Linked DNA regions of Homo sapiens: region 2 is linked to region 1. The links are contacts of gene promoters, found by promoter capture Hi-C in blood cells and fetal thymus (Javierre and others, 2016). All regions are on one chromosome and are shown on one strand. Each heading gives the region's core, a stretch centred on a gene start or on the middle of the fragment in contact. The rest is flanking DNA. Distances are from core to core; before and after follow the strand shown.

Region 1 (6,704 bases), core at 2,920-5,419:
CAGAGGTTCCATCCAATAGAGAATTTTCTTACAGTCCTTTAAGAACATCAATGTATTAGAAATATCTGGATGCCCCTGGGATCCTTAAGATAACCATATTGCCTCCTCAATGTCAGAGATCATCACCAAAAATCCTAATAATTCAGGCTCATCCTAAATATATTCTATCTTTACTAGAACCTTCAATGAAAGAGAATACCCAGAGTGAGAGAGCTGCAAAAGCATGGTCCTGGGAGACCCTTCAGCCATGCGTGATCATCCAAACTTCTCCTGAATAATTCCTTTGTAAAGTCTCCCAACAAATTATGTTAAAGAAAGAAAATTAAAGCAATCACTTAAGCCTAGTGCTTTCTGCTCTGTTTAATTTTTGTCAGGAGAAAAAAGCTAGTTGTGCATTTGAAGGCTCACACAGAAATCCTGAATTAGAAAAGAAATTAAAATACCTCAGCAAATTGGAAAACAAAGTCCTACAAAACATTCCATGGGTTCAATACGGGTAAGCATGACACAATAGATTTAAGGGAAAAATCAGCCACCAACCAATCCAACAAACAGAGTACAATAAGCAAGCAAACAAAAAGTCCTACAGCAACCCAATTCAGACTAGGGAAGGCCAGGACAGGGTTGGTTTTACAGAGAAAGAGTAGTGGGTCCCTGCCACATACAACCATTCATTACTGGGCAACATTGCAGTGCTGCTGTGAACACAGTCATGACAATGGGTCAAGAAGCCCTCCATCCACGATATTCTGTTTTAATCAGATGTAAGGTTGCCTTTGTGAGTAGCAAAGATAGGGTCTCCTACCTGTTATGATTTGGGGCCCCCTGGGAAGAACCCAATTTCCTAGTCCTTGCCTCCACTGGTCTGATGGACTGAAATGTCACCACGAATTATTCTGCAACTTAAAGGCTTTTTTCAGTCCTGAAATATACCTTTTAAAGCAAAATACACTAACTGCAACACTGAGGTAATCACTTAGTGTCACTTTTAACAAACTATTAGAAATCCCAGTTTAAGTGCATTTCTATGCTGAAGCCTTGCCAATTTCTTCCCAGCTAAATTCTTAGTCTTTCTCTGTGGAGTTAGCAGGAATTATAGATAACTTTGTTTCTGTATTTAGTTGTGCTTTAATAAAAATCATCTATTTATATAAAAGTCACTCTCTCTGCAATCAGTATTTCAGGAAAGAAGAAAATGTCAAGATTAATATTTATCGAAAAATAAGATTTCATGTCATAGTTCTCTGGGCAGTTCTTATTGATTCTGATTGCCCCGGGACAATTTTTGACAGTGTCTCCTTTCACTCTCAGACGTGCACAGTTCAGTGCCAAGGCAGGCATAAGACTTTCTTTTCCGGGATTAACTATTTTCCCCTGCTCATGGCCTCAGCTGAGGAATGCGTGTGCTTCTGAAGAAGTGAAGCCCAGGCTGGGCGTGGTGGCGCACGCCTGTAATCCTAGCACTTTGGGAGACTGAGGCAGGTGGATCACAAGGTCAGGAGTTTGAGACCAGCCTGCCAACATGGTGAAACCCCGTCTCTACTAAAAAAATGCAAAAATTAGCCGGGCATGGTGGTGTATGCCTGTAATCTCAGCTACTCAGGAGGCTGAGGCAGGAGAATAGCTTGAACCCAGGAGGCAGAGGTTGCAGTGAGCCAAGATCGCACCACTGCACTCCAGCCTGGGCAACATAGCAAGACTCTGTCTTGAAAAAAAAAAAAAAAGAAGTGAAACCTATAGCTTAGCAGGGCAAACCCACTCATGTGGCCTTTGTGCAAGAGGAAGCCACTTTCTCTGTGGAAAGGGGACGCCAGATAGAAATCCGTTGGTCTGCAATGGGCCTGAGGTTAAGGGAGAAACTTTCCCCAAAAGTCACACTGTGCAAAAGTAATAAAGCAAAATGAAGTGATGCACCTGCCACCACGAGGCGTAGGATGGCCTCATCGTAGGACCTGCCTTCTTGGAAGTAACAGCGGTAGATCCCATTCTCCTGGGCTGTGACGTTATGTATGACCAGGGCCACGCTGCCCCTGTTGATGTCTTTGCTCACAAAGGTGATTCTTCCCCGGTACTCCTCCATCTGCTCCTCTGTTCTCTCTCTCCCACCCTTATACACAAACACTGCGGGGGAGAACTGAGACCGGAACCACCGCACCTCCATGTCCTCAGCATTTTTCTCGGGTGACAGATGGCAGCGTAATGTAGTGTTTTCTCCCACCATGGCCAGGATGGGATTAGCTGGCCCCACGACAGTAAACTGGGCTGTTCAACAAGGGCAGAATCAGACAAGGATGCCAGTTATCACAACTCTAAGGCAAAACAAAAAACAAAAAACAAAAACAAACAAACAAAAAAAACTCCAGGGATGAAAGGAAGCAGATATTCCAAGGCTACAGGGGTTCTTGGGCTGAGAACCCTTCTGGGGACCAGTAGCTGTGGCTGGTCGGCAGCACCAACCCCTGGGAGCAGTAACTATTGAGGCTGCTCCTGCTTCACGAAGGAAACATTGGGGAGCCCGCCCTGGGCACCCTGTGCCCCTGAGATTTTCCTCCATTTTGCAATCTAGCACTGTGCCTGAGTGTAGTGTAAACTTGAACTGTCCATTAGGGTATCTATCCACTAGCTATTTAACAGTTCCAATAAAAATGAACTCTAAGTGTAAAACACACACAGATTATAAAGATTTAAAATTTCAAAATGTCAAATATCTCATTGGTAATAGTTCTATTAACTAAGCATTTAAATATTGATATGTGATTATTTATATGAAACAAAATACATTATTAAAATTTATTTCAAGTATGTTTTTACCTTTTAAAATAAAAAGTAGAATAGGCACAGGGTCTTGCGCCTGTAATTGCAGATATTTGGGAGGCCAAAGTGGGAGGATCCTTAACAGCTAGGAGTTTGAGACCAGCCTGGGCAAAATAGTGAGACCCTGTCTCTACAAAAAATAAAACTTAGTCGAGTGTGGTGGCCCTTGCTTGTACTCTCAGCTACTTGGGAGGCTGAGATGGGAGGATCCCTTGAGCCCAGGAGTTTCAGGTTACAGTGAGTTATGATCTCATTCTCCATCTGCTTCATTCCGGCCTGGCAACAGAGCAATATACTCTCTCTTAAATAAATAAACAAATAAATAAAAAGTTAAAAAAATCTTTTTGAAGATTTGCACTTGTATATGCACTTGACCTTTGTGCTTCACTGTGTTTCTTTTGGACAGTGCTGGTATAAATTCAGTGAACATGTTCAGAATGAAAGGATAAGTCAACAACCCCACAGTTCTTCCTTCTTTCCCTTTGCAGACTACAGGGTTGATGTTCCTTTCTGAGAGGTGACAGCAGCAAGTGACACACATCCCTACCTGAGACCAGTGCACACAGGCTGAGAAGGAGGAGGAGCAGGAGGAGGAGGAGGGAGGCTGGCAGGGAGAAGTGCAGAGCAGCAGCTGGTTCCATGAGCACCCAGGGCAGGCAGAGACCAGAGGCCTAGGGTTACAGAGGAGGAGAATCAGCCTAGGAGTCTTGGCACCTCAGTGCTGGTCGGGCCCAACCTCTCCTGTCACTCAAGTAGGTCTCATCGGTGCCCCAACTTCTGGGAGTCGCTTGCATCTCAAGGCTCAGGTATCTCCGAAAGAGGGATTCCGTAAACATTCCATAAGTAAGCCATCAATGCAGAGATCAAGGGGGCCGTTTTCCTCCTTCCTCTTCCCACTTCTCGGGCCACAGTCCGGTTTCTTCAGTTGTCCCTGGATTCTTTCACACCCTCGTCCCTCCACTTCCCCCTCCCCGAGACCCAGGTCGGGACACTCGAGGTAAAGCCAGGCGAGGCTGCGCCTCCCCACCAGTAGGCTTCCTGTCTCCCAGGTCCCCCTCTCCTCTCCAGAGCAGATCCCGCTCCCCGCACCTACCGCCCCCAGCTACCGCCCCCACCCCGGAGCTGTAGCGCCTCCTCTCCCTTTCCTACCTTCTAGAACTAACCTCTGTTTTCTTTTCCCCTCTGATCCTCACATGACGATTTTCCGATACAACTCACCCATGGGCACAGTCACCACCAGACAACAAAGCATCCCAAAGAGAAGAGAAAAGCTGTGTTCACCTCCTATTAATCGCGATGTTTGGAGTTGCGGACTCGGTATCTGGGACCTGTTCTCTGGGTGTCCAAAAAGTCCCAAGATTTCCACTGAGCAGTTTAGAGCCCAGGATTGGCCGAGTGAGGCTGAACCAACCAATGGTGTCTCGAGCCTTATTTCTCAGCTGTTACTAGGTAGAATACACACACAAAAACCCCCCAAAAATCTCAAGCAGCAAATAACCTTTTGGGATTATTAGGTATTTCTATTTCCTTTTTCTGTCTTTGGAAGCAAGACTTTTTTCCTTTATTTTCCTTTCTTCCTTCCTTTCTTCCTTCCTTCCTTGCTTCCTTCTTTCCTTTCTCATTCTCTTTTTCTTTCTTTCTTTCTTTCATATGTCTCTCTCTCACTTTATTCTTTCTTTCTTTCTCGCTTTCTTTCTTTTTTCTTCCTTCCTTCCTTCCTCTCTCTTCCTTTCTCTCTTTCTCTTCCTTCTCTTCTCCTTCCTTTCTTTCTTTCTCTTTCTTTCTTTCTTTCTTTCTTTCTTTCTTTCTTTCTTTCTTTCTTTCTTTCTTTCTTTCTTTCCTTCTCTCTCTCTCTCTTTCTTTCTTTCCTTCCGTTCTTTTACAAAGCCTTGAGATCCCCAAGGTGTCAGTGGCTTTGCTGGTGTAGACGAGGAGAGGGCTCTCTATGTAGAGTGATTTTGCTGGGGAGGAAACATGAGGAGGAAAACATAAGCCGCCGTCTTTCCAAAGCCAGAGGACTCTTGTTCATGTTGCTGGCTTTGAAGGTTGGGCCTGGTGCGCGGGAGGCCTTGGGGGAAGCAGGCATGGCTGGAGTGGGAGGGGTAGCAAAGGAAAGGTGACAGCAGTTGCAGTGGCTGTTATGAAGGTCTTGTTGTTCACTCCAAAGCTATTGGATAAGACGTGCTGAGAATACTGAGTGAGGATTAAAAACCCTTTCCCACGGGGAGGTGGTATTCTGGTGGAGGCAGAAGATGGAAGTGAGCAAAGACTTTCAGTTGACCTTGACCTTCTGCCAGTAGGTGGTGGGGTTAAGTCCAAGGACCACACACACACACCAGCACACATAACCTCCTCCCCATGAACATAATCCCTCCCCCACAGAATCCAATCTTGTCATTGTATAGATATCTTCCAGAATAATCTTCCCAAGGCCCAGTTGTCAATAATCCCCTCAAATGTCTAAATACTTAGTCTGGAACTGGTGCAGTGGCTCACACCTGTAATCCCAACACTTTGGGAGGAGGAGGCAGGCAGATCACTTGAAGTCAGGAGTTCAAGACCAGCATGGCCAACATGATGAAACCCCGTCTCTACCAAAAAAAAAAAAAAAAAAAAAATTAGCTGGGTGTGGTGGCACATGCCTGTAATCCCAGCTACTCAGGAGGCTGAGGCAGGAGAATGGCTTGAACCTGGGAGGTGGAGGTTAGGGTGAGCTGAGATCATGCCACTGCACTCCAGCCTGGGTGACAAAGTGAGACCCTGCCTCAAAATAAATAAATAAATAATAAAATATACACAAATAAATGCTTAGTCTAGAGGCCTCCAATTCCCTTCTGATTCAATTCAAAACTTTGCAGTTAATACACTAGCAATGGCTCCACAGTGGCCTTGCATCACAACGTTGCACTCCCTGTGGCCAGCGCTCCCTTTCCCATGCCATGCCTTTCACTTGAATTGCTTGCTCCATCTTTGCCCCTTGAAATCCTGCCCAGCCTTCGTGCCTACTTCCTCCAAGAACAACTCTGAATGCTCCTGCCTGAAGTGCTCTCGGCCTCTTCTAACACCCATATCTTTTGCTGTTCCCATGTCCTGTCTTCTATTATTGTTATCCAGGTATCAACTGTGTCTTTGCTGTGACTGGAGTACCTGTTCCTCAGGACAGACTTCTGCAGGATGTGATTCTTCTCTCCTTACAAGGCCCAACTCTAAGCTCTGCTCTCAGCTGTTGTTCAATGCATGAGTGACATGCTCAGGGTAAGGTCATTCCCACCACAGGATGGCCCAGTTCCTGGAATCATTCGGCACCAGAGTTCGAGAGAGAGGTGGCAGCACTATTAAGCCACTCTAGATCAGAAGATCAAGGACCAGGAAGGATGAACCAGTAGGTCCCTTCTGCAGAGAAAGCTCTTTGATGAGAATAAGATAAAGAAAGGCCTAAGAAGTGTTTTTACTATTGAATTGACACTTGAACTGTCCCATTCTCATACAGAAGCCTCACTCATCACCTGATATTTCTGGATTATAATTAAAATTGGATCCTGGGTTGAGTGGCTAATGAGGGTAATTATGTCAGTATTAGAATATTCCAACCAGGACTGGGCAGCTGTTGGGAAAGGACAGAAGAGAAGGATGCAAGTGTCTAAGAGCATGGCCACCCAGGATGAGACCTGACTTTATATTTTTATTTGAAGAAATAAGACCCAGGGCTTTGAAGCAGCTTGTGCAAGAAGCATCCAGCTAAGCCAGGCCTCAACCTCTGCCAAAGTTCATCTGAGCAGGAGGGAAACATGTGTGTTCTGAGAAGGAAGAGGATCATTTGGCCATGGGGTAGCTTAGCAAGAAACCAGGTTCTACTGGGGTGTGCCAGGTTAGATAGTAATGATCTAACC
Region 2 (7,157 bases), core at 2,990-5,489, 210 kb before region 1:
ACAAGCTGACTGCAAAGGACAGTGCTGGGAACCGCGTACAAGTAATCCGGTTAGCTTTCTGGAAGCAGCCCGGGGCGAGTTTGATGACTATCAACATAAATCCGTCCTTGCTGCGGCCTGACAAAATTTCCCATCTCGCTCCAAGAGCGCAGAGTAGCCCAGAGAATGGAAGCAGGGAGTAAATGTGTCCACTATTAAAATCAGAGATGACAGTTTTTGCCAGTCCCCAAGTATATTTCTAAAGTAACAGGGCCCTGCACTCTTTCATGGAGTGTCTAAAAGTCTAATAATAGACTTCTCGAATTCAAACACGCCTGTTTCATTAACTTTATTGAAGAGAACTTTCTGTCAGGTAGGTGTCCACTGCTCCTTTTTTGAAGAGGAGCGGGGTACGATGAGAGCGATAAACTCCGTCTACTGCTATTTAATTATAAACACTGACATCTTCAAAACACAGTACAGTTAATGAAATGAGAACACGTGTTGGGGTGGCTTTAAAAGATCTGGAGCTAGGGGAGGGGCATGATGGATGCAAGAGTGTCGGTAAGTTGTGCCAGTGTGGTGGCTAATGGTAGCTATTAGCTATTTTCTCTACTTTGTATATATTTGAAATTATCATTAATAAAATGTTTATTCACACCAAGTATCAATATAACAGGGGGTGCTAAAGGACCGTGAAACCGACAAAAAAAAAAAAATGAAGCCTTGGGGCAGCGTGTTCTTCCCGTTCCCCACATTCCTCATGATCCCTTCTCAACTTGGTGAAAATCGAGTCCCACTCAACTGTCTGTGAAGCAACCCTTGTTAGCAATTTTCAGGGTGGATTATTTTCCTTCTCTGAGCGTCTTACAAATTCCTGAATAAGCAAGCTGCACATGCGTTCTCCAAGTTTCCTTATTTCAGGCCCAGAAGAGACACTTTTAAAAATGGAACTCCTCCGAGCCGGATTCGAACCAGCGACCTAAGGATGACCACATTCAAACCCCTACAGTCCTCCGCTCTACCAGCTGAGCTATCGAAGGATGTCATTACCCTCGTTTTGGATTCTTTAGGATTTACCTATTGCTTTTGACTATCCTGTATTCTTGTTCATTTTGAAAATATAGGGAAACGTGAGGAAATTTTCTAGGATATTAGAAATGTTCCAAAATGTTCTAAAATGTTCTTATCTGAGTAGGGATACTGACTATACAAGTATATGAACAATTCTCTTGAACATTTAAAATTTGTGGGTTTTACTGTAAAAATGTTTCACATAGGTCCAAAAAAATAAAAAATAAACAAAACCACACCAATATTCCATGTCCTCCTCCCTTAGAATAGATAGGACCATTGCCCTTATTGCGCGTGTTGTCCAGCTGTCCTGTCCGCTTAGCACCTCCTCTCTCTATAGGAAGTAAATAATAAAGACAAGGTTATTTTAGACAACTGGGTTGAAGAGGGGGGACCTACCGCCTTGAAGCGAAGTTACTGCCCAGTTCATTTCGGAAACATTGAGATTCTCCTTTCTGAAGGGCAAGGAAAATTACACAATTTGTATAATTTGTAATTTGTGTTCGAGACACAAAACAGAAGTGCGTTGTGTGTGTACATATGTTTAGGAATTGAGCGGCTCATATGATATTGCACAATTGTAATGGGACAAGTAAATGAAACACAACACTTCTCTCTCCCCCTACAATTTAAAAAAGAAATATAGCATTCTATTTACAGGTGTCAACCTAAATAACAAAGAGAAGCTCTCTGAAAGAAAATGATGTTTATTTGGGAATAGAGCATTGCAATGAAAATACGAGTGCCATAGGAAACTATGTATATTCAGGGAGGTAAAGGAAGACAAAGGTGTTTGTTTGTTTGTTTTTGAGTTGGAGTCTGGCTCTGTCGCCCAGGCTGGAGTGCAATGGCGCAATCTCGGCTCACTGCAACCTCCGCCTTCCGGGTTCAAGCAATTCTCCTGCCTCAGCCTCCCGGAGTAGCTGGAATTACAGATGCCCGCCACCACGCCCGGCTAATTGTTGTATTTTTAGTAGAGACGGGGTTTCACCATATTGGCCAGGCTGGTCTCGAACTCCTGACCTCATGATCCGCCCACCTGACCTCATGATCCAGAATATAAAGTGCTGGGATTACAGGCGTGAGCCACCGAGCTCAGCGACAAAGATTTGTAAGGGAAAAAATGAGAAGGATTATATAACTGTGTTGAGGTAATTATTGTCTGCTACAAAAATGGATAGCAAAGAGGAAGCTAGTCCGAGGTTGGACAGGCAGTTGTGGGGCAGATGTCCTTGTAGAAGTATTTTTTGTGTAAGATTGTGATGGCCTGTGCAAGATTGTGGTTTTTGCAGTCTTTTGTGATAGTTTTTGTTATCAAGCATGGCCTTTTCCAGCTCTATTAATTAGCGTTTTTAGTTTGTTTTGTGTGTTTGTGTGTTTTAACAATAGTGACTCCATTTTGATTCTGACAGTTTTCACAAAGGTATGCTGTCATGCTTTGCTAATAAGTACCTATCATGGTATTCAGCTTCCTCGTGCCTAAAACAGAAATGAACACCAATGGGAAGAACGGGAAGGCATCTGGAGAGACTTTTCTTTTTTATAAAATTATTAGAAGTATATGGAAATTATAAATTGTGAAATTTATGGAAAGGAGTGTTGGTGAATTTATTTATAAAAGATCATCACTTATTACAGTTAAAGTTCTCCATAATTGTAATCTTGACAAAAATACGGTTTTTTTTTTCAAAAGATCCTCTCCAGCGTTTCCCATGAGAAATATCTGCAGCAACATAACTAATATTTAATTCAGTTATTCAATTCATTGCCATGAGAAACTAAGAATATATGGTCTGGTAAATTCCTTTCCAATAATGTAACCTAGTCGGGGAAAATACGAGAAGCCAGAGAAGAGAAATGAGCAGATTCTTATGAGATGGTCTCTGCCCATATGAAGTGTACTAACTGAGCCTTGGACACCAGATGTGAAAGCAGTTGACCAACCCTGCCATTTCACCACCAAACCCCAGGATCTCAGTTCACATGCTTTCTCGAATAAAAGCTTCACTAATTTTCACAGGGGGCAGCAAACATACAGAAAAAAATGCTCAGTATGTTTCTCATCAGTTACTGCTATGCTCAGGAGCTCCCAGAGCCTCCTGACTCTCAGTGACACGGTACTATAGAGTTGATTTTGATCAGGAAGAACTCCAATAGCTAATCTCATCAATTATTTTCTTTACCTATAAACTAATCTTAGCATAAGAATCACACCTCAGGGCTGTTAAAGTTGGAATTTCATTTGCCTGAAATGCTCTTTCCCCTGATAATCCCCAATATTTGCCTCCTGGGAATACAAGAACAAGTAATTAGTACCTTTCCGCACTAGATTTCTGTATCACTTTGAGGGAAGACTTCCTTCTTCCTCTTCTTACAGAATCTGGTGTCAGAACGGCCATTCTATTTATTCCCTCTTGTTGCAGACACAAGTTCAAAATGGGTTTATGGCTAAATCTAACTATCTGAAATAATTCTTGGAAATGTATCATCATCACTTGATTACAATCTCACCCTGTAGCTTCTCTATTGTTTTAGCACCTTTTCAACTTGCGAATTGAGTCCTACCTAGATGGTTTTAACTTCTCTTGAAGCTTACAGACCACTATAATATTCCTATGGAATAAAAAGGAACAAACTATTGGTAAACGTAACAACAGGGATGAAACTCATCTGCATTATGCTGAATTTACAAAGCCAGATACAAAATGCTACATACTATATTATTCCTATGAAATTCTTGCAAGGGCAAAGCTATAGGGACAGAAAATATCCTTAGTTGCTACTGGGGTAGAAGATAGGGGAGAAATTAAGTATAAAAGAAACATAGTGATTCAGTAAGAACAAAATAGAAAAAGAAGAAGAGGAAGAAGAAGGAGAAGGAGAGGAGGAGGAGGAAGAGGAGGAGAAAGAAAGAAGGAAGAAAGAAGAAGAAGAAACAACTTCTTTCTTCTTTCCTCCTGGGAGGCTAGGCCTGGTGTCATGCCTGTAATGGCTTGAGCCCAGGAGTTCCAGCCTGCAGTAAGCTATGATGGAAGAACTGCACTCCAGCCTGGGTAACAGAGCATGACCCTGTCTATTAAAAAAAAAAAAAAAAGAAGAAGAAGAAGGAGAAGGAGAAGAAGAAGAAGGAGGAGGAAAAGAAGAAGAAACATGCAGAAATTTGGGGGTAGAGTGATATTATTATTCCATATCTTGATTGTAATGGTGATAACACGACTGTCTATATTTGACAAAATTTGCTACACTAAGGAGAATGTACATTAAAACTGATGACATTACTGTATGTGAATTGTACCTTAATCTAAAAAATGGGAAGAGTAACTTTCAAAGAATTAAAGAAGAAAAGAAAAGTGTAGCTTAGAATTTAATTTTGAAATCAATGTAATCAGTGTAATTACTTTATTATCAGACTAAACAGGAAAAGCCATATGATTATTCCAGTAGGTGTAGAAAAAAGCAATTGACAAAATTCAGATACATTTGTTAGAATTTCTGCAAAGTATAAAAGACATATTTAAGAATTCAACAGCTAATATATTTAGTGATGAAAAACTCAAATGTTTTGGCCCTAACATCAGGTCCAGAGCAAGGATGTCCACTCTCACAACTTCTATTCAGCATTATCCTAGAGATTCTAGCCAGTGCAATAACACAAGAGAAAGAAAAAAATACAGATTAAAAGGAAAAAGTGAGACTATCTTTATTTGCATGTAACATTATTGTCTACGAGAAAATACTGAGGAAACTTCTACAAAGCTACTACAACTAATGAGTAAGCTTACCAAAACTGCAGGACACAAATATAATAAATTGTAATTCTATTTATTAATAGATTGTATTTGTTAACAATAAATAGTTAGAAATTGAAATACAAAATACCATTTGAAATAGTATAAAAAATATGAAACATTTAGAGATAAATTTACCAAGATGCAATGAAAGCAATGCATTGTTTCCAGAACAGAAAATTTAAACAATTTTCAGATATCAATTCCACATCTTTCAAATTGACTGATACATTTAATGCCATGACTATCAAAATCTCAATGATTTTTTTTAGAAATTGGCAAGCCAAATATAAAATGTATAAAATGTATACAGACAGTCAAAAGATGCAAAATATCCAAACTAATTTTGAAGAACAAAGTTGGAAGAACACTACCTGATTTCAAGACTTACAACAAAGCTACATAGAGTCTAGAGATAAACTTACATGATTATGATTAATTGATTTTTGACAGAGGTGCCAAGGTAATTCTACAGGAAAACGATAATCTTTGCAAAATGATGCTAAAAAACCTGAATATCCATGTGCTAATAAGTGAACTTAGACCCTTATATCACACAATGTACAAACATTAATTCAAAATTAATCAAAGACTTAAATGCAAGGACTAGAACAACAAAACCTCTAGAAGAAAACGTAGAAGGAACTCTTTGTGACTTTAGGTTAAGCAAAAAGATTTTAAATGGGACACAAAAGCATAAACCATAAAGGAAAAAATAAGTTGAATTTCATCAAAGTTTAACAAAAAATCTGCGCTTCAAAAGATACTGTTAAGAAAAGACAAGTCAGGCCAGGCATGGTAGCTCAAGCCTGTAATCCCAGCACTTTGGAAGGCTGAGGCCGGCAGATTGCTTGAGTCCAGGAGTTCAAGATCAGCCTGGGTAACACAGCGAAATCCCCTCTCTACCAAAAAAAAAAAAAAAAAAAAAGTCACAGTTTAGAAAAAGATACTTGGAAAACACTTCCCTGATGCAGGACTTATAACCAGAACAATAACATACTCTTGCAACTCAATAATAAGACCAGACAATACCCTTTTTTAAATGGACAAATGATTTGGACAGATATTTTACAAAAGAAGCTGTACTGATGGCCAATAAGCATAATAAGATATGTAACATCACTATTCATTAGGCAGATGCAAATTAAAGCCACAATGAGATACTTTACACACCTAAGAGAATAGCTGAAGTTAAAAAAAAAAAAGGTGAGAAATTAACAGTGCCGAGCGCCGATGATGATGTGAAATAACTGAAATTCTTATATATTGCTGGTGGGAATACAAACTGGTCCACCTTGAAAAACACTGTCAGTTTTTAAAAATGAAGTTATACATATATTTGCCATAACACTACATGAATATTTATAGTAGCTTTATGCATAACTGCCAAAAACTAGAAACATCCAAGTATCTATCAGCTGGTGAATGGATAAGTTGTAGTAAATCCACATAATGGAATACTGCTCAGCAATAAAAGGAATTAACTACTAATATATGCCACATTGATAATTTTTTTTTTTAAGACAGAATTTCGCTCTTATCACCCAGGCTGGAGTGTAGTGGCGCAATCTCGGCTCACTGCAACCTCTGCCTCCCGGGTTCAAGCGATTCTCCTGCCTCAGCCTCCCGAGTAGCTGGGATTACAGGTGCCCGCCACCACGCCCGGCTAATTTTTTGTATTTTTAGTAGAGAGGGGGTTTCGCCACGTTGGGCAGGCCGGCCTCCAACTCCTGACCTCGGGTGATCCGCCTGCCTCGGCCTCCAAAAAGGCCACCACATTGATAAATCTTAAAGCATTATGTTATATAAAGAAAGTCAATCATTGACTGGGCGGTGTGGCTCACGCCTGTAATCCCAATACTTCGGAAGGCTAAGGAGAGCGGATCACCTGAGATCGGGAATTCGATACCAGCCTGGCCAACATGGTGAAACACCGTCTTTATTAAAAATACAAAAATTAACCGGACGCGGTAGCGGGAGCCTGTAACCCTAGCTACTTGGGAGGCTGAGGCAGGAGGATCGCTTGAACCCGGGAGGCAGAGACTGCAGTGAGCCAAGATCGCGCCACTGCACTCTAGCCTGGGTGACAGAGCAAAACTCTTGTCTCAACAACAACAACAACAACAACAACAACAACAGGGAATTACAAAGGGATACATTCAATTTATTATTATTATTATTTAGACAGGGTCTCAACTCTGTCACCCAGGCTCTAAAGAGTGCAGTGGTGGGATCTCGGCTCATAGCAACCTCCGCCTCCCGGGTTCAAGTTATCCTCCAACCTCAGCCTCCCGAGTAGCTGAGGCTACAGGCACG

What was found. Contacts are between HindIII fragments. The CHiCAGO score rates a contact against its expected background, and 5 or more counts as called.
Region 2: a contact is called between a fragment that was not itself captured here and the fragment with the promoter of BTN2A2 in region 1, in 11 of 17 cell types (total CD4 T cells, total CD8 T cells, erythroblasts and 8 more). The highest score is 10.1, in total CD4 T cells.

What each region holds. Positions count from the first base shown.
Region 1 is chr6:26,380,573-26,387,276 of GRCh38, reverse strand. It overlaps BTN2A2 (butyrophilin subfamily 2 member A2), which reads right to left and starts at 4,169. Exons shown (of 8, transcript NM_006995.5): 1 at 4,096-4,169; 2 at 3,362-3,485; 3 at 1,915-2,262. The coding sequence starts at 3,455. RefSeq lists a silencer at 4,231-4,320. The HindIII fragment of the contact is 7,335 bases long and covers 1-6,704 here.
Region 2 is chr6:26,588,739-26,595,895 of GRCh38, reverse strand. TRY-GTA6-1 (tRNA-Tyr (anticodon GTA) 6-1) reads right to left here and starts at 1,022; the gene lies at 934-1,022. RefSeq lists an enhancer at 1-61, a silencer at 2,021-2,315 and a cis regulatory region at 2,980-3,084. The HindIII fragment of the contact is 1,186 bases long and covers 3,647-4,832 here.